4 separate regions of the Homo sapiens genome follow, and all the other regions are linked to region 4. The links are contacts of gene promoters, found by promoter capture Hi-C in blood cells and fetal thymus (Javierre and others, 2016). All regions are on one chromosome and are shown on one strand. The core of a region is centred on a gene start or on the middle of the fragment in contact, and the rest is flanking DNA. Distances in the headings are between cores, read along the strand shown.

The links. The method cuts DNA at HindIII sites, captures the fragments that hold promoters and counts their contacts. A CHiCAGO score of 5 or more calls a contact.
Region 1: a contact is called between a fragment that was not itself captured here and the fragment with the promoter of GNA14 in region 4, in 1 of 17 cell types (M2 macrophages). The highest score is 5.2, in M2 macrophages.
Region 2: a contact is called between a fragment that was not itself captured here and the fragment with the promoter of GNA14 in region 4, in 1 of 17 cell types (erythroblasts). The highest score is 5.4, in erythroblasts.
Region 3: a fragment that was not itself captured here is called in contact with the fragment with the promoter of GNA14 in region 4 in 2 of 17 cell types (erythroblasts and monocytes); the score reaches 5.2 in erythroblasts.

The regions. Positions count from the first base shown.
Region 1 is chr9:78,288,209-78,294,582 of GRCh38, forward strand. No RefSeq gene overlaps it. Among named protein-coding and RNA genes, the nearest start is that of PSAT1, 5.7 kb to the right of the region's middle. RefSeq lists an enhancer at 1-468. The HindIII fragment of the contact is 3,581 bases long and covers 2,102-5,682 here.
Region 2 is chr9:78,207,818-78,214,677 of GRCh38, forward strand. No RefSeq gene overlaps it. Among named protein-coding and RNA genes, the nearest start is that of CEP78, 25 kb to the right of the region's middle. RefSeq lists an enhancer at 3,180-3,499. The HindIII fragment of the contact is 2,297 bases long and covers 2,944-5,240 here.
Region 3 is chr9:78,191,487-78,197,599 of GRCh38, forward strand. No RefSeq gene overlaps it. Among named protein-coding and RNA genes, the nearest start is that of CEP78, 42 kb to the right of the region's middle. The HindIII fragment of the contact is 3,395 bases long and covers 2,016-5,410 here.
Region 4 is chr9:77,646,370-77,652,262 of GRCh38, forward strand. It overlaps GNA14 (G protein subunit alpha 14), which reads right to left and starts at 1,953. Exons shown (of 7, transcript NM_004297.4): 1 at 1,301-1,953. The coding sequence starts at 1,424. The HindIII fragment of the contact is 2,117 bases long and covers 215-2,331 here.

The DNA.
Region 1 (6,374 bases), core at 2,642-5,141, 640 kb after region 4:
GAAACAGGTACTAGACAGTGTATAAACATGTCAAGTTCAACCAGTTAGAGAAGGAGAGAGACTCTTCCGTTCACTGGGTCTTCTACATAAACACATCTCAAGATTTTTATTGCAAACCAATAGCTTCTCCTCTGAGCCATACCCCTAGGATGGTTAGACATTTCCCTATGGCACTCAGCAATCGCAGAAACATCAAAGTCCAGGACAATGGCAACAACTAACTTGATGTTAGGCAATGAGAGGTAAGAATTAGCTGAGCATGAAAAGAGGAAACGTACAGAGAAAAATGGAAAACCTTAACCCAGGCTGCTTAAGAGACTCTGGATAAAATCTGGGGGTGGAGGGATAGAAGGGCATCACCAGCAAAAAGCCACAGGAGCACTCTTTGAGGCCCTTGTCTCCCGTTTGGAAAGGATGCAGCATTTTATTGAGGGAGCGGCAGCATCCCCAGGCAGCAGGGCAAGACAGGGCATGTCACACGCTTGTGCAACAGCTTTCTCGGCTCACACCCTTGACTTCTTAGATCCCATCTGATTGCTCAGGTTCAGCTTGTATTACTCGGAGCTTGCTCTCTTCTGGGACAATTTAAATTACTGACACCTTTACATCATTTTTAAAATAGGGCAGTGTGCCTAACAGAAAGAGTTGTATTCTTTGGAATGGAAATGCAGTGATTTGATGTTCTCTCCGTGGTTCAAAGCCCAGAACAGACTCCTGGTGATCCTGGACAAATCCTGGATCTGAGTTTTGGCTTTTCTTTCTATGAAATGGAAAAATACGTTACCAATAGGTTCCAGGACGTCCATGTATGAAGCCACAGGTGGAAGAACTGGCCCAGCCTCACAGCATCACTTTACCTCCTTGCACCATTTTTCTCATCAGAAAGTGAAGGAGTTGGCCTAAACTGAGATTTGTGAGTCAAATTGGATAATTCAATCACAAACACCCCAAAATGTATGTAAGACACACTGGAAATACTTCATATTTTCATACATGAAAATGACCCTGTGTTGTCTGGAAGAGAGTGGGTGCTCTTGACATTATTTGTCATAAGCACACTTGGTGATTTTCTTTGATCTCTAACCTTACAGTTTAGAATGCTTACAGAGTTCCTTTTGGCTCCTTAATTCCACATGATTAGTATACCTGATTAGGATTCATTAATCATCTTTGGCTGTCCAAGGAGGTTTATGCATGTTTAACGACTTGAGACACTGGGGCCAGCCTGGGGACACCAAGTCATTCTATGTTACCTAAGGGTTCCATTTTGGCGATGAAAGTTAAAGTATGCTGGGATATACAGAATCAGCATAAATGTTATTACTTTAAAAATTCTTTCATCTCACTCCTCAGTTCTGCAAACCTCCACCCAAATCCTTGGGCAGTCATCTGGAAATGGCTTTGTACTGATTTACAGGGCAATGTAATTTCTCCTTCCCACTGCCTCAGGACAATGCTGGGAGAGACTGGTTCTCAGAATGCATGGGTAGATGATTCTAAATGACATTCCAAGATTCCTTCCAGTTCTGTGAGTTTGAGAAACAAACATATGCTACCCTGTGGGCCTGGCTCTCTAACTAACTATTCTCCCTCCACAAAATACATCCCTTCAACAACCTGCAACTTGCCATTGTCTGCCATGAACTTTGAGTGGTTGTGCAAATTCAGATAAGTGTGACTGCATCTAGTGCAAGCTGAATGGAGGTGAATTATTTGGTGTATTCGTCCACTCTCGCACTGCTGAGAACTACCTGAGACTGGGTAATTTATAAAGAAAAGAGTTTTAGTTGATGCAGAGTTCCATGGGCTGTACAGGAGGCATGGCTGGGAGGCCTCAGGAAACTTATGATCATGGCAGAAGGCAAGGGGAAAACAAGCACGTCTTAATATGGCAAAGTGGTGGTGGGTGGTAGGGGGAAGTGCTGTACACTTTTAAACCATCAGATCTCATGAGAACTTACTCACTAGCACGAGAACAGCATGGGGGAAATCTGCCCCCATGATCCAATCACCTCCCACCAGGCCCCTCGCCCAATATTGGGAATTACAAATCAGCATGAGATTTAAGTGGGGACATAGAGCCAAACCATATCATTTGGTAAGCTTCCACATGCAGCTTCACTCAGCATTGAAGAAACTGAGCTAGAATCCTAATTGCATGGCGACATGTTAGGACTCGATGAGGCCTTCAGCCTTGGCAGAAATGACTTGTGGGAGGATGGGCCTGAAGAACCACAGGCTCTCAAAGGGTGCAGAGTGGCGTCCTAGGATCTTCAGGGGTTTTTGGTGGTCTTATGCCTATCCTCACCTCACTCTTTTAGAATTATCAACCCAGCAACAGACTGTTAGCATTTTCATTAATTTCCTTCTTCCTGCCCTGTACATTCACTCAAGAAATATTTATCAAGCACCTAATATGCTTGATGCTGGGGATACAGCAGTGAAAAAGGCAGGTGCAGTCTCAGCTTCTCTGGGAAGTTATGGTCTAGTGTGGAAATGGACAACAAACAAGTACTATTGCAGAGGCTGGTGAGTTTCCAGAGAAACAAGCAAGGGCTGAGCCAAGAGATGACCAAGAACCAGGCTAAGTATGGTCTTGTGGGCCCATTAGGAGTCTGATTGTTGTTCTAAATGTAACGGGAAGCTGTTAGAGGACTTTGAGCAGAGGAGCTACATGATCTACCTTACGTATGTTTTCAAAAGTTCACTGTGGTTGCAGTTTGGAGATTGGATTCTAAGTCAGTGATGTCAATGCAAGGAGTCCAGGCCCAGGAGTCTAGAAGAGATCATGGGAGCTTGGACGAGGCAGGCAGCATGGAGATAGAAGTCGATAGAGCACAGAAAAATTGTGAAGCAGAACAGATTGAATTTGAGAATGAGGAAAGATGAAACCTCCTTTGAAACTCTGCTGAAAGGGGTGCAGGATAATTAATAATAATAAGCAGTTTTCTGTCTCTAGGGGTGAAGACATCAACTTTGGAACAGACCTCTCCTTGTTTTAGCAGAATTATCACAATAGGTATAGTATATGTAACCTCATTCTTTCATTCAACAAATCTTCACTGTATTCAGTACAGTAACATGCTGTATAGGCTTAGGCTGTATCATATAGCCTAGGTGTGTGCAGGCTGTGCCATCTAGGTTTGTGTAAGCACACTCTATGATGTTCACACAACGATGAAATCGCCCAAGGATGCATTTCTCAAAACATATCCCTGTTGTTAAGCGATGCGTGACGGTACTTGTTGAATGAATGAATCTGAACACATCTGTTGATGTTCTGGTTTGGGACTATAATTTGTTGTCTAAGTTTGAGTAGAATTTGTGACTCCAAGGAGGTGGGCTTAAAAAAATTGTTTTTGGAGATAGTTAATTGTTGTGCTGATGAGAAGCAGCTTTTTCTTTCATTTTGATATTTCATATGAGGCGTATTCTTACGTCATTAAAAAGTCTTCACACACACCCTGCTTGGATATGCCTCAGATGCACACACCACAACATGCTGAGCCAGTCTTCCCTCCCCTCCAGCTCCCTCCCCTCAAGCCAGCTGCTCCCCTTGCCCCTGCCCAGTTCGTTTTGATGGTTACAGAAATGCCTCTCACCCCCAGCAGCTTTGAATTCTTGTTATTTTTAATTAATCTTTGCTGCCTTTCTATACAAGACATAAGCCAAACAATACAATTAAATGACAGTCCCTGCTTATCTCTGAGGCAGTGTGCGTGGTTCTTTGGAGCTGGCACTCAGTTTGAAGCATGAGAAAAAGAAGAGGAAAAAGCAAGACTTTTCACATCCTGAACTGGCTTCTGCTCCCGTCATCCCTGAATTTTCTCTCTCTGTGCTTTGCCTTAGTATTTCCTCTGGCCTCATAAAGAAAAGGAAAGAACAAAACAACCCACAGATTATTAACTCTACAAAAGTCGTTCTCAAACAGCCTGGATGGTTGTCTGAAATAGGCATGTGTTGACTTTGCACAGGTGGTGAAACGAGTGGTCTGTGGCTAGTTTTCAGGCTTCCATGTGGAACCCTTCTGTGAGGCAGCCCTCATGAAGAGTGCTGATCCCAAAAATGCACACGCGTATGAGCAGAGCCAGCGGGGCTGGGAGTGGAAAATACCAGTGTGTAAACACGTTAGAGATGGTGCCAGGAGTTGTGCCCCTTTCTCTAAAAAAAAAAAAAAAAAAAAGTTAAATAAATTCTGATGCTTTTTCCACTTTGAAATCTTTTAAGGATGTAAGAGGTAGAAGCAGTGTGCATCCCCTGTGTAATTCTGCCCACTAGTCCACAGAGAGCGTGCCTCTTAAATAACCTCTTTAGGGATTTCACTTGTGCGGAGCTTAAAGATCTTTTAAACATCTATACTAATCTTTAAAAATAAAGCAAAATGAGGCCAGGTGCAATGGCTCATGCCTGTAATCCCAGGACTTTGTTGGACCAAGGTGGGAGGATCACTTGAGGGCAGGAATTCGAGACCATCCTGGGCAACATAGCGAGACCCCTATCTCTACAAAAAAAAAATGAAGCACAATGGGTATACCTTGAAGACATTATGCTAAGTGAAATAAACCAGTCACACAAAAGGGCAAATTCTTATGATTCCACTTACAGGTGGTACTTAGAGTGGTCAAATTCATACAGACAGGAAGTAGAAGGGTAGTTGCTGGAGCTGGGGAGTGGCGGGAGTTATAGTTCAATGTGTACAGAGTTTCAGTGTGGGAAGATGAAAAGGTTCTGGTGGTGGATGGTGGTGACGATTGCACAAAAATATGACTGTACTTACTGCCACTTAACTGTACACTTGAAAATGGTAAATTTTATGTTATGCATATTTTGTCAATAAAAAAATGAAGCAAAGTAGGCAAGGAAATAAACTGAGGTAAAGAGAGTAGGATGGATATCTTTTCCTATCTGTTGGGGTCAGAATAAAGAAAGTAATAGGACTTTGACTTTTGGTTTCTTTTTGCTACATAAACTATGATTACTGCCTCTCTCCCACTTTTTAAAATTGTTGTTTGTTTTTGAGACAGGGTCTCACTCTGTCACCCAGGCTGGAGTCCAGTGGCGCAATCTTGGCTTATTGCAACCTCCGCCTCCCGGGATCAATCATTCTGTATGACTCCGCATACAAGAGGTACTTAGAGTGGTCGGATTCATAGAGACAGGAAGTAGAATGGTGGTTGCTGGAGCTGGGGGCAGCAATTCTCCTCCCTCAGCCTCCTGAGTAGCTGGGACTACGGGTGCGGGACACCATGCAAGGCTAATTTTTAATTTTTTTTTTTTTTTTTTTTAGTAGAGACGGGGTTTCACCATGTTGGCCAGACTGGTCTCAAACTTCGGACCTCAAGTGATCCGCCTGCCTAGGCTTCCCAAAGTGCTGGGATTATAGGCGTCAGCCACTGGGCCCAGCTTCCCTTCCTCACGTTCTCTGGGAATAATGATAAGGGAAAAGGATCTTTAGCTCCAACTACAAAAAGGGCAGCAGAAATAATCTTGTCTCATTCCAAATAGATTTTCTCCCCTGCTCATGTTGCCTACTTCTCTTCTCACTGCTCTCTAAACAGGATGGCTGGGTCTGATTGGCAATCGCAGCAGAGCCCAGCATCTTTCACATATAGAAGTACTCAATGAATAATACTTGTGAAAATTGAATTTCTGCCTTTTTACGAAATATGTATTTCATAAAGAAGCTTCTTTGTACTTGCTAAATGAGAATCTACTAAGAGGGAAGGATCCCTCCCACATGCAGGGGTTCCTCTGGACTGTCTTTTTTTTTTTTTTTTTTTTTGAGATGGAGTCTCACTCTGTCTCCCAGGCTAGAGTGCAGTGGCGCGATCTTGGCTCACTGCAAGCTCCGCCTCCCGGGTTCATGCCATTCTCCTGCCTCAGCCTCCCAAGTAGCTGGGACTACAGGCGCCCGCCACCATGCCCAGCTAATTTTTTGTATTTTTAGTAGAGACAGGGTTTCACCGTGTTAGCCAGGATGGTCTCGATCTCCTGACCTCATGATCTGCCTGCTTCCGCCTCCCAAAGTGCTAGGATTACAGGCGTGAGCCACCGTGCCCGGCCTGGACTGTCTTTATAGATCAGTGCAAAATAGGCAAGAAGGACAAAATAATATTTTGAGATTAAATTATGTTTCCTCCTTTGCTGCTGCTTTATTCAAGCACTTAGCTGAGGGTGTTCCTTGTTGAACTGGAGGAAATTTGGGGGCAGAACACTATAAACAGTCCTTCAGAGAGCTTGTTACCTGTAGGCTCAATAAGGCCTCAGATAAGCTGGAGTTTGCCCCTCAAAATATTGATCTGTACAGTGTTTTGCTGAAATTTACATTTGTAGATGTTTAAAAATGAGATGTCACATAAAAATCTGGGTTCCTG
Region 2 (6,860 bases), core at 2,842-5,341, 560 kb after region 4:
AGAATGTTTATGATTAGGCCGCTTGTAATAGGTAATTTCTATCTCTATTCTTGACATTTATTCCTAGAATATCAACCTGGGGGTGGTGATACATCACCCTACTCTTGATTTTGGAACTTTTAATATGAGATATTTTAAAAACCACATCTCCATCTGTGATCTGGGGATAAGAGAATAAGCTAATAAGCATTGTGCCTGAGTTACAATTTCTAATACTGTGAAAAGAAGAGGCCACATCAATGGGAAAAGGAAAACAGTCTCGTGGGAGCAACTCTGAGCCTCGTTAATGTACCTTATCATTGGTTCCAAAATAGAACCAGCGGGAATCGTACCAGCCCACTATCTGGAAGCAAATAATTAATCACTGGGAAAGGTAATTAAAATGTGGCAACAAATGAGCATAGTAAGCCATAATATCAGATAAAAAGTATACTGGAAACACAGGAAATAAAGTATAGAATTAAAAAAAAGAAGCTATAACAATGTAAAATTTCCTAGTTATCTCTGCTAGTTTTCTCCTCCCAATTCCACAATCACCTCTAAATTAAAAATGAAAATGACATGCATCACTTATCAAAATAATATGAAACAAAAGCCTGTTCATGTTTGTAAACACATTATAAAAACCTAGGATTATACCAGTAACATTGAAATACAGTTGACAAAATATTAAAATAATATGTAACATGTACTGCTTTATTAATAAATAACAAGATCTAGCAGCTGGGCTAACTACCATAATTTTGTTGTAAATTATAATACAAGCTATCTGCAAAACCAGTATGTGATGTGAGCATGTGAGCCTTCATTCTGAGTCTCCTGACACGTTTTCTCACCATCAATCTGAGGGCTAACACATCTGTTTCTGATATGTGGACTCCTGAGAAGAGAAAGCATTGAGAAGGGTCCTGACCATTTCTGTCCTCCCCTCCAAGGTCTCTGAAACTATGATGGAGCAAGTCATTTTGATTATGAAGTTGTTTATGGGTGCAACCAATCATAAAAGTTCCTTGAGACTTCTCATAAAATAAGCCCCAAGACTCTTCCAATTCCTTTCTCACAGTTCAGTGCAACCTAAAAGTTGCCACTAGATTTAAAAAACCCTTGTAACTATGACTTGTGATTACTAGAGAGTCAGACTGCCACAGTGATTTCACTCGCTGTAAATCCTCCCACATGGAAAGCTAACTAGTCTCTGATGCCAGCCTTGAGAGAGTTGGGGATTGGCGAAGCAGTGAGGCTATCCTCATGGTGATAAGGAAACCAACTTATCCCCATCCATCATTATCCTTCATCATGAGTGGCCAGATGTAGATGTCCATCCAGTATGAACTAGTAATTAGAAGACTTGTTCCCTCTCATGCTGACACACACTTATGATTACAGTTGATTCTCAGTGGGTTCTACGATCCATTCTGCATGGTCTAATTAACCAAGAATACAGTAAAAGCATGGAGAACAAGTCAATGGCAGGCGCCTAGAGCAGTAGCTCTCAAACTGCCGCATGTCGCAATCACCTAAGGAGCTTTTGAAAAACACTGAGTCTAGAACATGCCCCCATACCAAATAAATCTGAATATTTGGGGCGGGACCCAGGGATCAGTACATTATTATTACAATTATGAAAAAAAGGAAGACAATTAAGTAAAACGACTATCTCATTACCTCTTTGGGTGGTAGGACCACGCATTACTTTTTTCCACTTTCTAATTTTCTTTGCAATTTGGGCTTTTTGTGATAAATGTGTATGGCTTTTATTATACGTAAGTCATCAATCAACTTTTGCTTTAACAAACACATTGTATTTAATTTTTTGAGGGTGTAAGCAAAATAGTAACCATATCAACCAGTTTTCTCAGTACTTTTATGCCTCTGTGGATGAGCCCAAGAAGCTCATGGAAGAAGTGGAAAAGCTGATCCATACCTTCAAAGATTTAGTAATGACGACATCAATGAGAAATCAAATGAGGATCTGGTTTCCATAGGGCCACCAATGAATAATATCTCAAGAGTAAATGAATATTGCGGGTGGCTAGTAAATGGCAGTTGCAATGATATCACCTGCAAATCCTTCAGGTTTATACCTGATATGAAATTATGATTATGTGACAAGAGCAAATCTTTCTTTTTTTTAATTTTATTATTATTATACTTTAAGTTTTAGGGTACATGTGCACAACGTGCAGGTTTGTTACATATGTATACATGTGCCATGTTGGTGTGCTGCACCCATTAACTCGTCATTTAGCATTAGGTATATCTCCTAATGCTATCTGTCCCTCCTCCCCCTACCCCACAACAGTCCCCGGTGTGTGATGTTCCCCTTCCTGGGTCCATGTGTTCTCATTGTTCAATTCCCACCTATGAGTGAGAACAAGAGCAAATCTTTCTTATGCAATTGGCTGTTCCTTGAAGATTTTGACTGAGGAATCAAGATACAATATATATTGCACTTCAAAGTGAGTTGCTAAAACAAAATACAAATTTTCAAAATAAGTATCTGAACACCAATGACAGAACTCATCCCTCACACACATTAAAAATACAAAGAGGATGAAGTACATGGAGGTTGAAGGTGAAACTGGGAGGAGGATTTTGGAGATAGATGTTGGAGTGCTAGATACCTCAACAAGGGTGAGGAATAGAAGATGTTTCCCACTTAACGGTTTTAAGGAGCCCACATAGAGAATTCAAGATGTGCTACATTCAGTTTAAGGCAGCAGTGTCCAATCTTTTGGCTTCCCTGGACCAAAAGAAAGAATTGAAAGACAATTGAAAGAATTGTCTTGGGCCATACATAAAAATATACTAACAGCAGCTGATTAGCTTTAAAAAAAATTTGCAAGCAAATGTCATAATGTTTTAAAAAGTTTATGAATTTGTGTTGAGCTGCATTCAAAGCTATCCTGGGCTGCATGCAGCCCATGGGCCACAGGTTGGACAAGCTTGATTTAGGGGACTATACTTGTGTCTGATTCCCACTAAGAAATGTAAACACAGTGAGATAGAAGTATTTAGAAGCTGATCTAGGAGAGGTGGCTGTGGCCAAAGAAAGTGTATTTCCTGAGGAAGAGGTTTGTACCACTCTTGAGAGGCAGGCAGTCTGGGAGCATCAAGAATCTTTCTGAGGGCTATCTGAAGACTAAGAGAACATCAGAAGAAGGAAGCTAGCTGTGGGTCACTGGATGGTGAGAAGTCGCAAGAGGAGCTGCCAGTGACCAGCTAGAAGAGACATCATTTCCCACATCAAAGAAACGGAAAGAGAAGCATCCCCCAACAATGGCAGCTTTCATGATAACCCACAAAAAATGCACATAAGAGAAAAAAACAGCTTCACGCTCCAGCAAGCAGAAGCCATCCACTGACAACATCAATCAAATAAGAACTTTCTCGCCCTTTTCACTTCCTTTCCCACCTTGCAGTTCCAGCCTGAGGAAGCCAAGACAGACTTTTACAGGTGGCCTAATCATAGCCTTGATGGGCAGATGGAGGGAAAGTGCTATGGGTAGGATGGAGAAGTCGACCTTGTCCTGAAACAGTACCACAGTGGGAAAGGCAGGATGATTGACCTTTGAACGAAGATTAAAATTTTGATCATCGCGTGGGACTATAGGAGTTTTCAATCAGGAGAGAGGAAGAACGAAACAGTTAAAGGGGCACTGGGAAATAAGAAATTGTTTTACAGTTATATCACATGAGTTGTCTTTATTCCACATAGTGGCTACACAAAAGAGGGCTTTTCAAATGCCCGTATCCTTTGACTCAGTCATTTCACTGCAGAGAAAGTGTCCTGCTGTAGCTTTGTAGTCGAAAGCAGCTTTTTTGCTTGTTTGTTTATTTGTTTTCAGGATAGATGTTCATCTTTGCTCTTGGAATGTTACTCTGAGGTTTTCTTGGTTAGGCAAATCTAAAGAAGGAATGAAGACTCCATTGTCTGGTAATTAAGATATACTAAGACTTCCATCTCCAAAGGAAAATGGAGCAATACTCTCCCCATGCCAGCCTACCTTTATGAATTAAAGAGGTCCATGAGGCTAGGTTGAGAGCCAGTAGGAGGCTAGCCAATAGAGTCATTGAAATAAATTAACCATGGTACTTCTGGAGAAGTGGTTATCCCTATAAACCCAAAGCGCTAAAGCCTGGGACTCCGGCCTATTCCAGCCCATGAGAGTATAATACAGTGGGGTTGCCTTCTCTTGCAAGAGTGCCGAGGTTACGGAAGGGCTCTGGTCCAGCCCAACAGGGAGCTCCAGCAGCTTCAGAGACACCTTCCCTGTGTAGCAGTTTTTACCTTCATGAGGCCCAGACTTTCAGGTGGGAGAAATTTAATGGAGGGCCTTGGGACTTCTACCTTAGTGACTCAACCAAGTCCCAGTGCCATCTTACCCGGCACTTATTTCAGCTCCAAGGGACAGTAATACCACAGCCTTACTGTGGTTCCATCCCCCGACCTGGGGCCAGGGTGCCTTAGATGCTTTACAGGTGGCAGGATGAGCACCTTAAAGGGACTTCAGAGGGGTATCATGGGTGCCTTATCTCTGAACACAACCTATGCCTTCTAATGCACTTTCTCAGCACTACAGCTGCTCCATGAGTGTGGGACTTCACTGCAACTTCTACACCTCCCACCCAAAGCTAGTGTGTAGTGGGCAATGGCCCTGCCACAGGGTCAGCACACCAAGGCCCTCAGAGTCCCACGCTGGGACTCCTTCTTCTCAAGGCATCTGCAAGACTAGTTCTCACAGAGATAAGGTGACAACCTCTGCTTAATAACCATCTTTAAGTGTATGAGCCTGCTATTTTATTTTAACTTCAGTATTACTTCCCTGCCTTACACAGGTGTAAAATTTCAATCCCCTGGCTACCCTTTTATGGCTTGATGGGCATTTAAGATGACCTCTCTGTGGTTCAGTTTGGCCCAGAATTGTTTACTTGCATCTTTGATGAAGAGGAATTTTGTTTACAGCCTCTAGGCTTCATTCAGGCAGACCCTATTTCCAAACAATCCTTTTACAGAGGTAACTGGGAGGCACTAAAGAAAAAGCATGTCACTTAAGTAGGGAACTCATACTGTTGCAGGGGATTATGGATTATTTCTTGTGGAAAGTAAAAAAAAAAAAAAAAAAAAAAAAAAAAAAAATGCTCTCCTTGTGCTGAGAAGTGTTGGGAAGGACAAAGAGTAGGCCAAGTGGGAGGGCTCAAAATGAGCCTGTTCTCATCTCACTTCTGTGGAAGAGCCAAGCTTTTCAGTAAACCACATGAGATTACTAAGGCTAGTGCTTAACTTGGGGTTCATGAGGTTTGTAGGCTCTAGCCAATTCTGAATTTCAGTTCTTTCACTGAAGTTGTGTGAAAGTATTGAGTTTATATGAGTGTTTTCTGGGAAAAGACTTGATTCTCAAGGAGATTCATGATCTCACAGCTTCAGACTCTTGCTATTTGAAAGTGTGATCTGAGAATTATCTGTACGGAAAACACCGTATTTTTTAAAATGTAGGTACCAGGCCCACTCATTCAGAACTTTTTTTGATAAATAACAAATAATTTTTTTAGTATCAGTAGTTGCAAATTATTGCAAGGATCATACTTATACTAAAAAGTGTATTCATTGTTTATCTGCAATTCAAATTTAACTAGCTGTCCTGTATTTTGATTTACTAAATCTGGTAACCCTAACTGATAATGGGATGGAAGAAACTCCTTTTTTTAAAAAGAACCTCAATGCAAGGGCTGTTTTTTCATAAATAAAATTAATACTATACCACTGATCATTGGACAAGTGAGATTATATCACTTGTTCACTAAGGCCTGGAATATACTTCTAGTCCCAGCCTAGAGAGGATTTTTACAGTCATTGGAAGCAACCATGTGCTTTATATCATAGAGTTTTGCAATGTACAGTGACCAGGGGAATAAGTTTTCGTTTGTGCACTCCAACCTTGGAATTTCTGACATTACTGATGTCTCTTTGTGGTCTTAAACCAAGAAGTCTGGTTAAAAAGTTGCTAAGGATGGGTCAAGAAGGCAGCGTTTTCCTTTCTGTTTTAGAGCAGACGCTAATAACCACCCTTTTGGTAAAGGAACATTGCCACCTAGTAACAGAATCAAGTATTTTCCTCTGGGCTCCAGACAAAGGATTGACTCCAACTGCACATTTTCAAGTGCACACGTTTGTGAATTTGGGTTTTGGTTGCCTTCCACTTAGCATTCAGCATTTGTAAGCTTTCCACAGAATGCAGGGAGAAAAAGCCATTTGTCAGTAGAGCCTCAGTTTGTAAGAGGCAAGTGGGAAGGCTTTTAAAAAGGCCAGCAATATCAGTAAGAATGGATTCTCCTTAGTATATACTGGCAAATAGGAGAATAAAACAAGCAAAACTGAGTGGATTTTGTGGAAAGAAACTTCTTTCTGCCAAAAACTGTGTGGATGGAATTGCTATTTATGTTGCAATTTGTAAAATGACTGAGTTTTTGATGCATGCACAAAGCTGAAAAAAATTACTAGTAAATAGTACATAGAATCTCATGTATAAAAATAACCTTACTCAGAAGCATTAAATTTGGCCCCCACTTGAGATCTGAGGATCAACTAAGTGCTCCCTAAGTCCAGCTAATTCTGCAGTCTTAAAACCCATACCATGGATTCATGGTCTCACGGTCTCACGTGTGTTTCTAATATAAGGGATAAATCTTGCCATCACAAAAAAGAAACTATTTAGTTAGAAATTCCCAAGTGTTAGAAGTAGGGCTTTTTTTTTTGTCTTCTTTTGCTTAGTAAGGGGGCTATCACTATTCAAAAAAATTCAACTTACAAATTTAATAGTCACTCTTGGCTTAATGCCACCTGTTTTAATAAATAGGCC
Region 3 (6,113 bases), core at 2,463-4,962, 550 kb after region 4:
ACAGCTTTAACTGGTATGGTTTGACTAGGGCTTGAGGATCCACTTCCCAAATGGTTTATTCTCAAAGCTAGCAAGTTGATACTCAGTCCTTTCCACATGGGTCTTTCGATGCTACTGCTTGGGCTTTTTACAATATGGTGGCTAGACTCTAAGAGCAAATGTTCCCCAAAATGGGAAATATGGGCTGCTAACGCTTTCCAGCCTGGGACCAAATAATACATGGACTCACTGTTGTATATGCCGTTGCTCAAAATAGTCACAGAGCCCATCCACCTTCAAGAGAAGTACACTGGAATATTTTGAGGAATACAACTGTATACAATCATGGCCAGAGAAATTTCCCAGGCAAAGAAATGAAGATGCTGGCAGTAGGAAGTTGGGTCTGCATGCACTGAAGAGTTAAGCTTGAGGGAACATGGACAGGGCACCGACATGGCACTACTGCCACCTGATCCATCCCAGAGTGTGAGCTCCTTCAGTTATAGAAATCTTGGACAGTGGGACAAAATAGGTGTTCAAGAAGTGATTCCAGAATGAATGAATGAATGAATGAATGAATGAATGAATGAATATAAGAGTATTCACCCTAAATATAAACAGAAAAGAAAACCTAGCACCTACCATGTCATTGAGCAAGGGTCAACAAACAATGATCAGGGGGCCAAATCTAGCTTACCACTTGCTTTTGTGAATAAAGTTTTATTTACAACAGTACCTATCTGTTTGTGTGTTATCTATGGCTGCTTGTATGTTACAATGGTAGAGTTGAATCATTGTGACAAAAACCTATGGCCCACAAAGCCAAAAATATTTATAGCAACCCTTTACTAATCCTTTACAATAAATGCTTGTAGACTCCTGACATAGAATATTGAAATCTGAGCAGTTTACATCCATATTTCTTATCATTTCTCCTTTATTTTCCTATTACTTTTGCCTTTTTTTCTTTTCTTTTTATTCATCTATTACTGTGTGCCCAAGGCTTAGGTATAGCTTAAGGGACAAGAAGAAATTTCACCCTAAGATCCAAAAAAAAAAAAAGAGTGATACCACTCTTATTCTAACAGATACAGCAACCACAATAGGGAAGAAGTGAACAGAGAAGGAAAAATCAGGGATGAAATGGAATTAATCAAATATGGTGTTGCTATTCAACAATTAGCTTGACTGCCCTTTTTGCAACAGGGCCTGACAGTGTCATATTTATACCACATTTGGTTGCCACTTGGCTAAGGAGCCTCAGCGGGGTACCAATTAGAGTTCTTAGTGGCAAACAATAGAAACACATTTTGGGCAATTGAGTCAGAAACTAATGTATTAAATGATATTTGGAAGCTTTCTTCATATCCAGGAAAGCTGAAGAAGCAGATCTAGAGGCTACGTAGCAAGAAACATCCAAAGTCCACAGAAGTGATCCCACATAGTCCACACTGCCCCCACTACTGGATAAGAAACTTAGCCAGTGGTAGTCTCATCACCCCTTCTGGACCTTTGACCTGGCTAAAGAAAACATCACTACTGCCTCTGGAAGGTGGAGGGGGCTCTCCCAGGATCAATCCCGATAATTGACTATGCACAGTCGCTGATTTCCTGACTCTTTGTGTTGCTAGTTACTGAGTCAAAGTCTGACTCCGAGCACTTGATTGCTGAGCTGTAGGTCAATGTTTGTGTTCTAGTTGTAAGGGAACCAGGGAAGGTGAGAATCTGGCTTCCAGAGTTGGAAGTATCTGTTCCCAACCCAGAAGATCCTGAACTTTTGAATTTTCCTTACTTTCTTAATGTTTTCATGTCCAGATTTTAGCAAGAGCTTTGAAAGGTGATTCAATGCTTAATTTTTTTATTCATCCTTAGCAATATTTACTAAGGGTGGGCTGCATGAAAGCAATAACCTATGCTTTGCTTGTGGCCACATATCTGGTCTGTGTCTGAGCATGGGCTCACCTCATCAACTACCACATATTAATGGAACACTTGTTGGCTGTGTTAAATTTGCCATTTCTCAACTAACTTTAAAAAGCTTCACTATTATATGAAGAAGAGAATAAGGATGTGAGATCAAGAAAAGGGGCTTTTTATTGTGTTTTTAATTTTTTTTTATTTGCTAAACAGTTGGAGGAAATACGAGCATGTTTTCCCACTCGTAGGAAAGACTCTGCATAGAGAGAAAGGTTGATGCTACATGGATAGAGGAGGAGCTATGGCTGGAGGCAAAGTATTCATGATATTATGATGGTACTATAGCCCAGGAACAAGGAATACCCATGTCATAGCTTGATATTCATCACTCTTCCCTACAGAATTCCCAATGGAGGTGTATTAGTCTGTTTTCACACTACCGATAAAAGCATACCTGAGACTGGGTAATTTATAAACAAAAAGAGGTTTAATGGACTCACAGCTCTATGCGGCTGGGGAGGCCTCTCAATCATGGCAGAAGGCAAAAGGTACATCTTACAGGGCAGAAGGCAAGAGAGAATAAGAACCAAGCAAAAGGGGTTTCCTCTTATAAAACCATCAGATCTCGTGAGACTTACTACCACAAGAACAGTATGGGGGAAACCACAACCATGATTCAATTATCTCCCACCCAGTCCCTCCCAGGACACATGGGAATTATGGGAGGTACAATTCAATATGAGATTTGGGATATCATAACAAGAGGGAACCAAATATGAAGAATAACCAGCAAAAGGGAAACCTATTATTCCTTCTTAAATCATTACACAGAATAGACAATGCAAGGCTTTCCCAAAACCTATGTTCAAAATCATGGCTAAGACCTGGAAACCTAAGTGAGACTTCCTGCTTCCTCACATGTAAGCAACACACTCAAGTGTATTTGCAAAGGAAGTATGGCCCATACCCCGGTTCACTTACATACATATTCTCATGGCATAGAAAAAAGCGAAGAGCAGTGTTTCACAATTGGCACTAATGACATTTTGGAGCAGATAATTCTTTGTTGGGGTAGGTGGGGAAGTACTGACCTGTTCTGTGTAGGATTTTCAGCAGCATACCTAGCTTCTACCCACTAAATGACAGTAGCACACCCACCTCTCCCAGTTGTGATAACCTAAAATATCTCTAGACGTTGACAAATGTCCCCTGGGGGCCAAAATCCCCCCGCGAAACTAGAGGAGAACAGAATGGTTGGCGGGTCTCTGGGAAGTAGATTCCACTTTGTTCTGAGGCAGGAAAGCAAGAGAATAGTTCCTTTGTGGGTGCATAGTTTTAGAATGCAGTACTTCTACCCACAAGTAAAAAGACCCTTGATGATGGCCGGGCACAGTGGCTCATGCTTATAATCCCAGCACTTTGGGAGGGCCATGGCGGGCAGATGACTTGAGGTCAGGAGTTCGAGACCAGCCTTGCCAATATGGCGAAACCCTGTGTCTACTAAAAATATAAAAATTAGCTGGCATGATGGTGCACGCCTATAATCCCAGCTACTTGGGAGGCTGAGGCAGGAGAATCGGGAGAATTGTTTGAACCTGGGAGGTGGAGGTTGCAGTGAGCCAAGATTGCAGCACTGCACTCCAGCCTCCAGCCTGGGTGACAGAGCAAGACTCCATCTCAAAAACAAAACAAAACAAAACAAAACAAAACAAAACAAAACAAAACACCACTTGATGAAAGCCCAGGGGGTCTTACCATGTTGACTAAAATCTCTATTCTTGGCTAGGCACGGTGGCTCATGCCTATAGTCCTAGCTACCCAGTAGGCTGAGGTGGGAGGATCCCTTGAGCCTAGGAGGTTGAGCCTGCAGTGAGCTCTTATGGTGTCACTGCACTCCAGCCTGGGTGACAGAGCAAGACCCTGTCTCTCTCTCTCTCTCTAAAAAAAATAAAAATAAAAAAATTTGAAGAAGAAGACCATGAAAAAACCCCTCCCTTTATCCTTCTGAGGGAACAGGTGGGCAGAGATAGCTAAAGAGTCCCCTCCACGTTCATCTTCATTTCCTATTGCCTCTCATCCCCCAGGGATGGCAAACAGATTAAGGTCCATGGACAGTGGGATATCCTCCACTCATACAGGGATAGGGTGAGGGTTCCTGGGACACTAAAATTAAGAAAGTCCCAGGCGGCTGGGCGTGGTGGCTCATGCCTGTAATCCCAGCACTTTGAGAAACCGAGGTGGGTGGATCACGAGGTCAGGAGTTTAAGACCAGCCTGGCCAACATGGTGAAACCCCATCTCTACTAAAAAAGTACAAAAATTAGCTGGGCGTGGTGCCGCATGCCTGTAATCCCAGCTACTTGGGAGTTTGAGGTAGGAGAATCTCTTGAACCCAGGAGACGGAGGTTGCAGTGAGCCAAGACCGCGTCACTGTACTCCAGCCTGGAGACAGAGCGAGACTCCATCTCAAAAAAAAAAAAAAAAAAAAAAAGGAAAAAGTCCCAGGCAAACAGGATCAGTTGGTCAGAGCCCTACAGTATTGTAAAGTAGCTTGGTTCCACCAGACTTGGAGAAATTTCCCCAATATTATACCTGGCTTCTACCCACTAGATGACATTATATTATGTCGTCTCTTATCCCTTAGAACCCTCCTAGAATCTGTTTAACTATTGCCCCCAGAAGTCCCTGAAGTGAGTCACAACAGTATATTAAGTTAACTTAAAGGTTGCAGATTATTTAAGGGAAAAAATTCACTCCTATTCTATTTTCTATTTCCTGTGCACAATCATGATGTTCAGACTGGCTCACTGGAGTTTATTCCACAAGCCTAAGTAATGCAATAAAGAATGCCCCAAACTTGAAACAATATGAACATTCTCCCATTTAATTCACTAGAGAGAAATTAAAGCTGAGAAACAGAATCTATCTCCTTTGGTTGAAATTAAAATCTAAAAGAAATTATGGTCTCTTATTCTCACCATCCTCACTTCTTATTTTCTTTGCTCTCAGCTGGAGTTGCTAAACTCAGATGGAGTTTCAATTCCTTTTTCAGAAGCTGTGGCCTGGAACATCTTCCGCTGGGATGGGTGGAGCTCCCTCAAACACCTCTAAAACAGGACTAATCCAAACCCATTTGTCTCACCACTCTGGTTTTCTGACACTCATAAGGATCAGCAGAACATGCAAGAACATCAGTGGGTTAGCCTATGCCCACAAAATAAAGCAAATAAGGAGTCATGACAGCAGTTTGCTTCCAAGCAAAGTTATTCCTCTAGATTTCAGCAGATGGTATAATCGAGACCGCCTTGCTGTTGGCAGTCAAAGAACATAGCAGACACTCAATGTTTTCTTGGGAAAGGTGGGTAGACAAAGAAAACAAGAGAGAGAAAATAGAAGACATGTTTCAGATTCTGCCTGTCTTGACTGTATGACGAACACCTGTTTCATGAGATGATCACATTCCATTTTGGGGTTTGAAGCAAACCTGCATCCTGGAGGCACAGTGTTTGGGCACAAGCTTTTAAATTTCCTCTTCAGCTCTTGAATTTTTAAGAATGACACTGAGTTTTTTCCTCTACATCAACCTGACTAATATATGGGTTTCCAATTCTCTTTACATATTCATTATTTAAAACAAGATCACCCTTATGCCAACCCCTAGCTCCAGCCCACCACAATTGATCCCACAGACTGGACTCACATCTAAGATTTGAGCTTATGAAATGAACAAGTTAGAACCGGCACGAGACCATATGCTGGTGGAGACCATGATGGGGAGGGGCCAGGTGGTAAATTTCAGGACCTAGGGACAAGCCACTTGAATCCAAAGCTGAATTCCACAGTGATTTTCTTTTCCTTGACTTCTCTTCAAAACAGCAAAAAGAGAAACTAGATTTGGAACTAACATTCTAGTGTACTGAGAATTTAAATTCCAAATATTTTACACATTAGTGTTCTCAAGTTCTTAGGAATGAAATGACTTTTACAGATTAAAATACTGGCCCACCATCCTGCCTGAGAAATACAATAAAGGGGAAAAAAAGCTCTGGTGAAAAATTCTTTAAAAATTACTCCTCTTGCCAGACCTAAAACATTTATATATGGAAGTTCCGTTTTGAGATGAGCATTTTCTGGCTCCAAAGTCTCTCTTTTCCTAAAAACTAATATTAATTTGAGTTACAGTATCAGCTGTCACAGGTGCACCAAGGACCTCATTCT
Region 4 (5,893 bases), core at 703-3,202:
CAGCATGGTCTCTGGGTAGCAAGCCCCTTTGGACCTACAGACTTCCAGCTCTGTGGGGAGGGGCACACCCCCCCCCAACCCCCAGAAGGCCAGACTGGGCCCTTTAAACCCAGGGGATAAGGATAAGGGGGTTCTTCCGCCCAGGTCTGAAGGCCATACTGGCTGAGAGCCTTCTCTATATTACACTAACTAGATCAACTTTTTCTTTCCTTGAAGCTTTCTGGGAGGGTGATTCCTATACAAGGAATAAAGATGAATAAATAGATGGTATAAGAGAAGATTCCTGTTCAAAAGGGGTGAAAGAAAAAAAGTTGAAATCTTTGTGGCTATCTAGAAAAAAATTGACAGCTGATATCATGGTCTGAAAGGTAGAAAAGGTAAAATATTCCTCAAACAGCAAATGTGTTGACAGCGTTCTAGAAAGTCTGAGATGGGATCCTTGCCTCATGGCATAACTTGGGCAAACCTTAAACTGTGTTCTTTCTGTGTTTGAAAGTGGATGTCCTACCCAGACCTTTGCAGAGACACCAAAAGAGCTGGATGAAGACCTGCCAGAGGCACCAGGGCAGCCAAGCTGAATCCTAGGACGTGGACACACTGAGTCAAGCTGGGCAAGGGAGGTTTGGGTCCGCTGCAAACACAAAGGCCTGAGGGACCCCCATGGGAGGCAGGCATAGGAGCTCACGGTCAGAGGAGCAGCAACGGCATGGGCTTCACCCCCACAGCTGACCTAGCATCGGCTTTGCCTTTTCTCAATCAGGGCAAGTTGGTCAGTTCTCCAGGCCTCCATGTTTTAATTCTCTAGAATAGCGATATCACCTGCCCGCATCACCAGGTGGTGATGCCCTTAAGAACTTAGCACGATCTGGCACATGGTAAATTCTCAAGATGCTTCATCTAGAACTGAAAGCGTACGGGTCAGAGCTAGCGCTGAACCCAAGATGTGGGTCACCACAGACCCCAAGCTGGGTGTGCTGCGGGCGGAGGAGTGGACGGGGTTTTGAGGAGAGGGGCACACCGGAACACATAAGGTACAGCGGTCAAGAGGTTAAGTGTTACAGGTCCCTATCCTGTTTTGGGGCAGGGGAAGGTGTTGCTTTTGCAAGTCGCCCAGCCAGAGATGGAAAGAACAGGCACCTAAGGCCCCAAGTTGCTGGCATCCGTGAGCTCCGAGGGGGAGAAGGACGAAGCCGCCCTGCACCCCGCTGGGCTCCAGGGCCGCGCGGGTGCCAGTGGAGAGGCCGGGAGGGCTCGGAAGAAAAACGCCCGGCTCACTGGAGTCGGAGACGCAGCCACTCACCCAGCAGCAGCAGCTTAAGCTCACGGCGCGCGTCCTTCTTGTCCCGACGAAGCTGTCGCTCGATCTCCGCGCTGATGCGCTGCGACTCCTTCTCCTCCGCGGACAGGCAGCAGCAGCCGGCCATGGTGCGCTCAGCTCAGTACCCGACGGGGCGACGCGGCCCCGGGCACCCGAATCCTCGGCCCGGCCGCTCACCCGGCCAGCATGCGACGGGCACAGGGGTGTGGAAAGAAAAGACGGGGGCCGACTTGAGCTTTGGAGTAAGACGCCTGGACCTCCGAGGCTCAATCCCCCTTCGAAAGTCGGCTCTGAGGCGGGGTGAATGCCGAGCGCTGGGAACGCTCGAGTGCACCCCGGATCCGGGCTCAGCCCGCCCCACTCTCGCTCTGGGGAGGAGGAGGGCGAGTCGAGAAGTTGGGAGCGTTGCTGGCCCCGGGAAGATGCGCGCGCCCCTTGGCACAGGAGCCGGACAGCAGTCGGGGGCGCAGACGAGTTGGAACGTCGGTGCTCGGGGGAGAGTAGGATCTCCTGGGCCTAGGGGTGTCCCCAGGCGGGAGGTAGGCGCGGAGTGGGTTGGAGGCAAAGGACCTGGCTGGCCTTTGCCTGGAAAGTTCTGAAAACCTCAGCAGTGACCGCAGACTAAGACTGAGTGGAAAGGTTCCCGCTAGCGTTTGTGGCTCTAAGTGGCAGGAGGAGGCGGAGCATCTTGAACCTGCAGCCCTGGCGTCTGCTGGACTTGCCCTTCTGGGCACCCCAAGCCGAAGGCGCCTGGAAGTGAAAGGGGACGAGCAGGGGGCGCGGAGCTGGGGGTGGGAGCTGGCACCTCTAGGAGCAGCTCCCACACTTGCCTCCCTGGCTGGGGCGTCCCGGCCAAGGTTTGCTGTAATCTGCGCGTCTGGCCGCCAGGCACCGGGTTCCGACAGGTGAGTGAGTTTCGCCAACTCACTCGCTCGGAGAAGGCGGCAGCAGGCTGGAAGAGGAGCGGCGCCAAGCGTCTGTTGCGGGACACAAAGCCCCGGACCTGAAGTGGAAGCTTGCCCACCAGCTTCACCACCACGCACACCCGGATTTCCTAGACTGGCTCCTTCCGCTTCCCGGACGCCCCGGCCCAGCTCGGGCTTGGCCAAAGCCCTTGGTCAGCTCGGCAATTTGCCTGTAAAGTGTGGCTGGGCCTGAGCCTGCTGGCTCTGAGCTCGGAGAAGGAGCCGCCGCTGGGTTCAGTTATAAGAGAACTGCAAGAGCCCAGGGTAAATATCCTCTCGGTCTCCGGACGAGGGGGCTGGGGAGAAAGGGAACGGCTGATTGCTTTGCATTTTATGATGGGAAAGACACCTGCTTTGTAGAAAGGGCTGATACGTTCCTAGTAGCACCTGGCAAGTTTCCTGCCCAGCCCTGAAGCCTAACAGCCGCCTTGCGATTGTGTCCGCACTGACACCTTGGCCTGTATCCTGGACCGTCGGGGTCAAGTTTGAGCAGCATTAATAAAAACTTTAAAAGCACCTCTTAGTACTTAAGTGACACGATAAAATGCATATTACAACATCTGACTTTTGTCTGTGTAGATTTTGATGCAGAAAAGGGAAGGTGGGGAGAGGGGATCCTATTGGCCACAGCAATGAACGTTCTTTCCTTCTCAAGTCAGTATAGGCCATATGCTAATGGGGCGTTAGGCAATTAGCTAGCGCTTCCTCTACTAAGAGCAGGCATAAGTGCCTTTCATTTGAGTAGCATATATTTTATAAATTCAAACTGAGGAGCACATTGAGTGGAATGGTACGTGTCATTATATAAAGAAGTTGGTATCGCGATGCTATCTGGCTGCATGTTCTTATTATTTTACAGTTTAAGAAATGTAGAGGAATCAGACATTAAAAATGTGCATACATGCTTTAATGTGTGACTATTTTAGTTTTCTTGCAGGCATAAATTGACAGTAACAGTGACCCCTACAGGAAAACTCCTGGACATTTCAGATTTGATCTTTGGCCATTTAATAGCCTGTTTCTTCTCTCTTAGCTCTTACGGATTCATTTACAATTTGAGAATAAGATCTCTTGGCTTCTCAAAGTCATGGTTGCATCATAATTGTTATCATTTAAAAATTATAAAAAATTTTTAAATGATTAAAACTAGGGCAAATTTGAACTCTTACGTTAACGGGAATTACTGATACTGACCTATTAGGTTTAAAGTTGGCAAGATTTCAAAAACAGTTATGAAACATATTGATTAGGGCAAATCTGTACAACTTTCCTGGGCTAGTCAGCTTGGCAGTATATATCTGAAGCCTTAAACATGTCCGTCCCCTTCGGCCAAACCAGTAATTTCTCCCTTAAGAAATAACTAGAAAGAAGCCTCATGACTGATGCAAAGGTTTTATTGCCAATACAACAACAAAAACTCACAACCTAAATACCTAACAACAGGGAAGAGATCACTTAAATCATGGTTTATCCATACAATGAGATGTTTTGGAGCCATTAAATATGTGGATATGCGAGTAGTAAACATGTGAATAAATTTGGAGAAAATCCTCAAAATATATTGAATGAAAAAGGCAAGATCCAAAAATATAAAGAGTATGATAAGATTTTAGTATAAGAATACGCATACACATTTTTAAGAGACTGAAGGGACACACATCAAAAAGGTAGCTTGCTGTGAGTCATGGCTGTTTGGTTGATTTTCATTGTTCATTAGAAAATTTGGGCTGGGTGCAGTGGCTCACGTCTGTAATCCCAGCACTTTGGGAGGCCGAGGCGGGCAGATCACCTGAGGTTGGGAGTTCGAGACCAGCCAGCCTGACCAACATGGAGAAACCCCATCTCTACTAAAAATACAAAATTAGTTGGGTGTGGTGGCACATGCCTGTAATCCCAGCTACTCGGGAGGCTGAGGCAGGAGAATTGCTTGAATCCGGAAGGCAGAGGTTGTGGTGAGCCAAGATCACACCATTGCACTCCAGCCTGGGCAACAAGAGCCAAACTCCGTCTCAAAAAAAAAAAAAAAGAAAGAAAAAATTTGGGGCAGCTTGCATAAAATTATTTAGGCTCCACTTTCCTTAACTATAAGATGAGAGGGATAAGCCAGAATAAGCTCAAAAGGATCACCCAACTCTAACATGCATTATTTCTTTGATGACATTCACACTTATCCAAAATAAATTTATTTAAAAATAATCAAAAACCTAAAGTTGTTATTGAGCATCAGCCACTGGTAAGAAACAGAAAACTGGGATATCACAAGTCAATCATTTTTATACTTCTATGTTTTATTCATCTCTGTTTTCCTTATCTGTAGAATCTGGAAGGTAAAATGATAATAATTTTAAGATATTAATTCATTGGAAACATCTTTCCAGGAAGGGGTAGTTTTGAGAAGAGTTCTCAATAAAAGAGAATATTTATTTTCCTAAGTTATTTCAAAAAAGCTGCAATTTTATTTTATTCATCTTGAAGACGAGAGCGCAGACTGGACCTGAGTTTCAGATATCCACCAAGTGTGGGGCTACAGGGGTGAGCTAATTGTCTGATATCCCTCTGAATGTCCACTAGGTCCATACCAGCCCCTGTACCAGGCAGTGAGGATTCAGGTAATAAGACAATTCCAGACTTTCGGTAGAGCTATAGTCTAGTAGAAAGAAGTAAAACTGAGACCCTGAAATCTGAACCTACCCCTTCCTGCTTCCTTCCAGAGAACAGTGAGAGCACAGAGTCACCTGAGGGCGCTCCCCAGGCCTACAGATATGCACAGCAGCCTCATCTTCCATCACTCTCCTGGAACTCTAGACAAATGGAATTTTCTGTTCTCCCTACCTCCTGCCTCCATGCCTCGGTGCATGCTGTTCCATCTTCCAGGAATACCATCTCTTACCCTAGGCAAAATTAGGTAATTTCTTTTTCAATTACATCTCTTCTGAGGAAGCAACTCCAGCCCTTGTCAGTTACATCCATCTTTCCCTACTGCTGGAACACTGTCAACATCTCACTCTATTACACCCGTCTGTTTCTTCTAATCTATGAGTTACTCACAGGTAAAGAGTTTTTCTTACTTATCCTGGTATTCCTAAATTAGCAAGTTTCAGTTGACTAACCTTAAATACTGAAACCAAGAAGAATTAGTCTGAGATGCAAGAAAAGAAGGTTCTTGTGGTGGAAGACAGTGAAAACCAATAAGCAAGTACAAAACAAATGAATGTATAACTTAGGAAGAACTTGTATATATGAGCTGCCCTCACCTGCCACTGGCCCCCTTAGAGAGAATGACTGCCCTGTTTCTAATTCAGAATGCCAAGGAAATGTGCAAATAGAGGGCTGGAAAGATGCAGTTCACTTTCACAAGTGTATTGTCTCTGAACTTAACAAGTAACATAGAGTAAAAATAGGACCTTGAGGAAGTTCACAAAGCACTAATACTAATGTACCTTTGCTGCTCTATGTCAGCATTTTTCAAACTGCAGTTGTGACACATTCCTAGGGTGTGGCCAATATTTTTTCTTAAGAATAAAATATAAAGAGCCAATATCAAGGTTGCTGTATGTATTATTATTTAATAAAATGTTTTTTAACTTTTTTTTTTTTAAGAGCCAGAGTG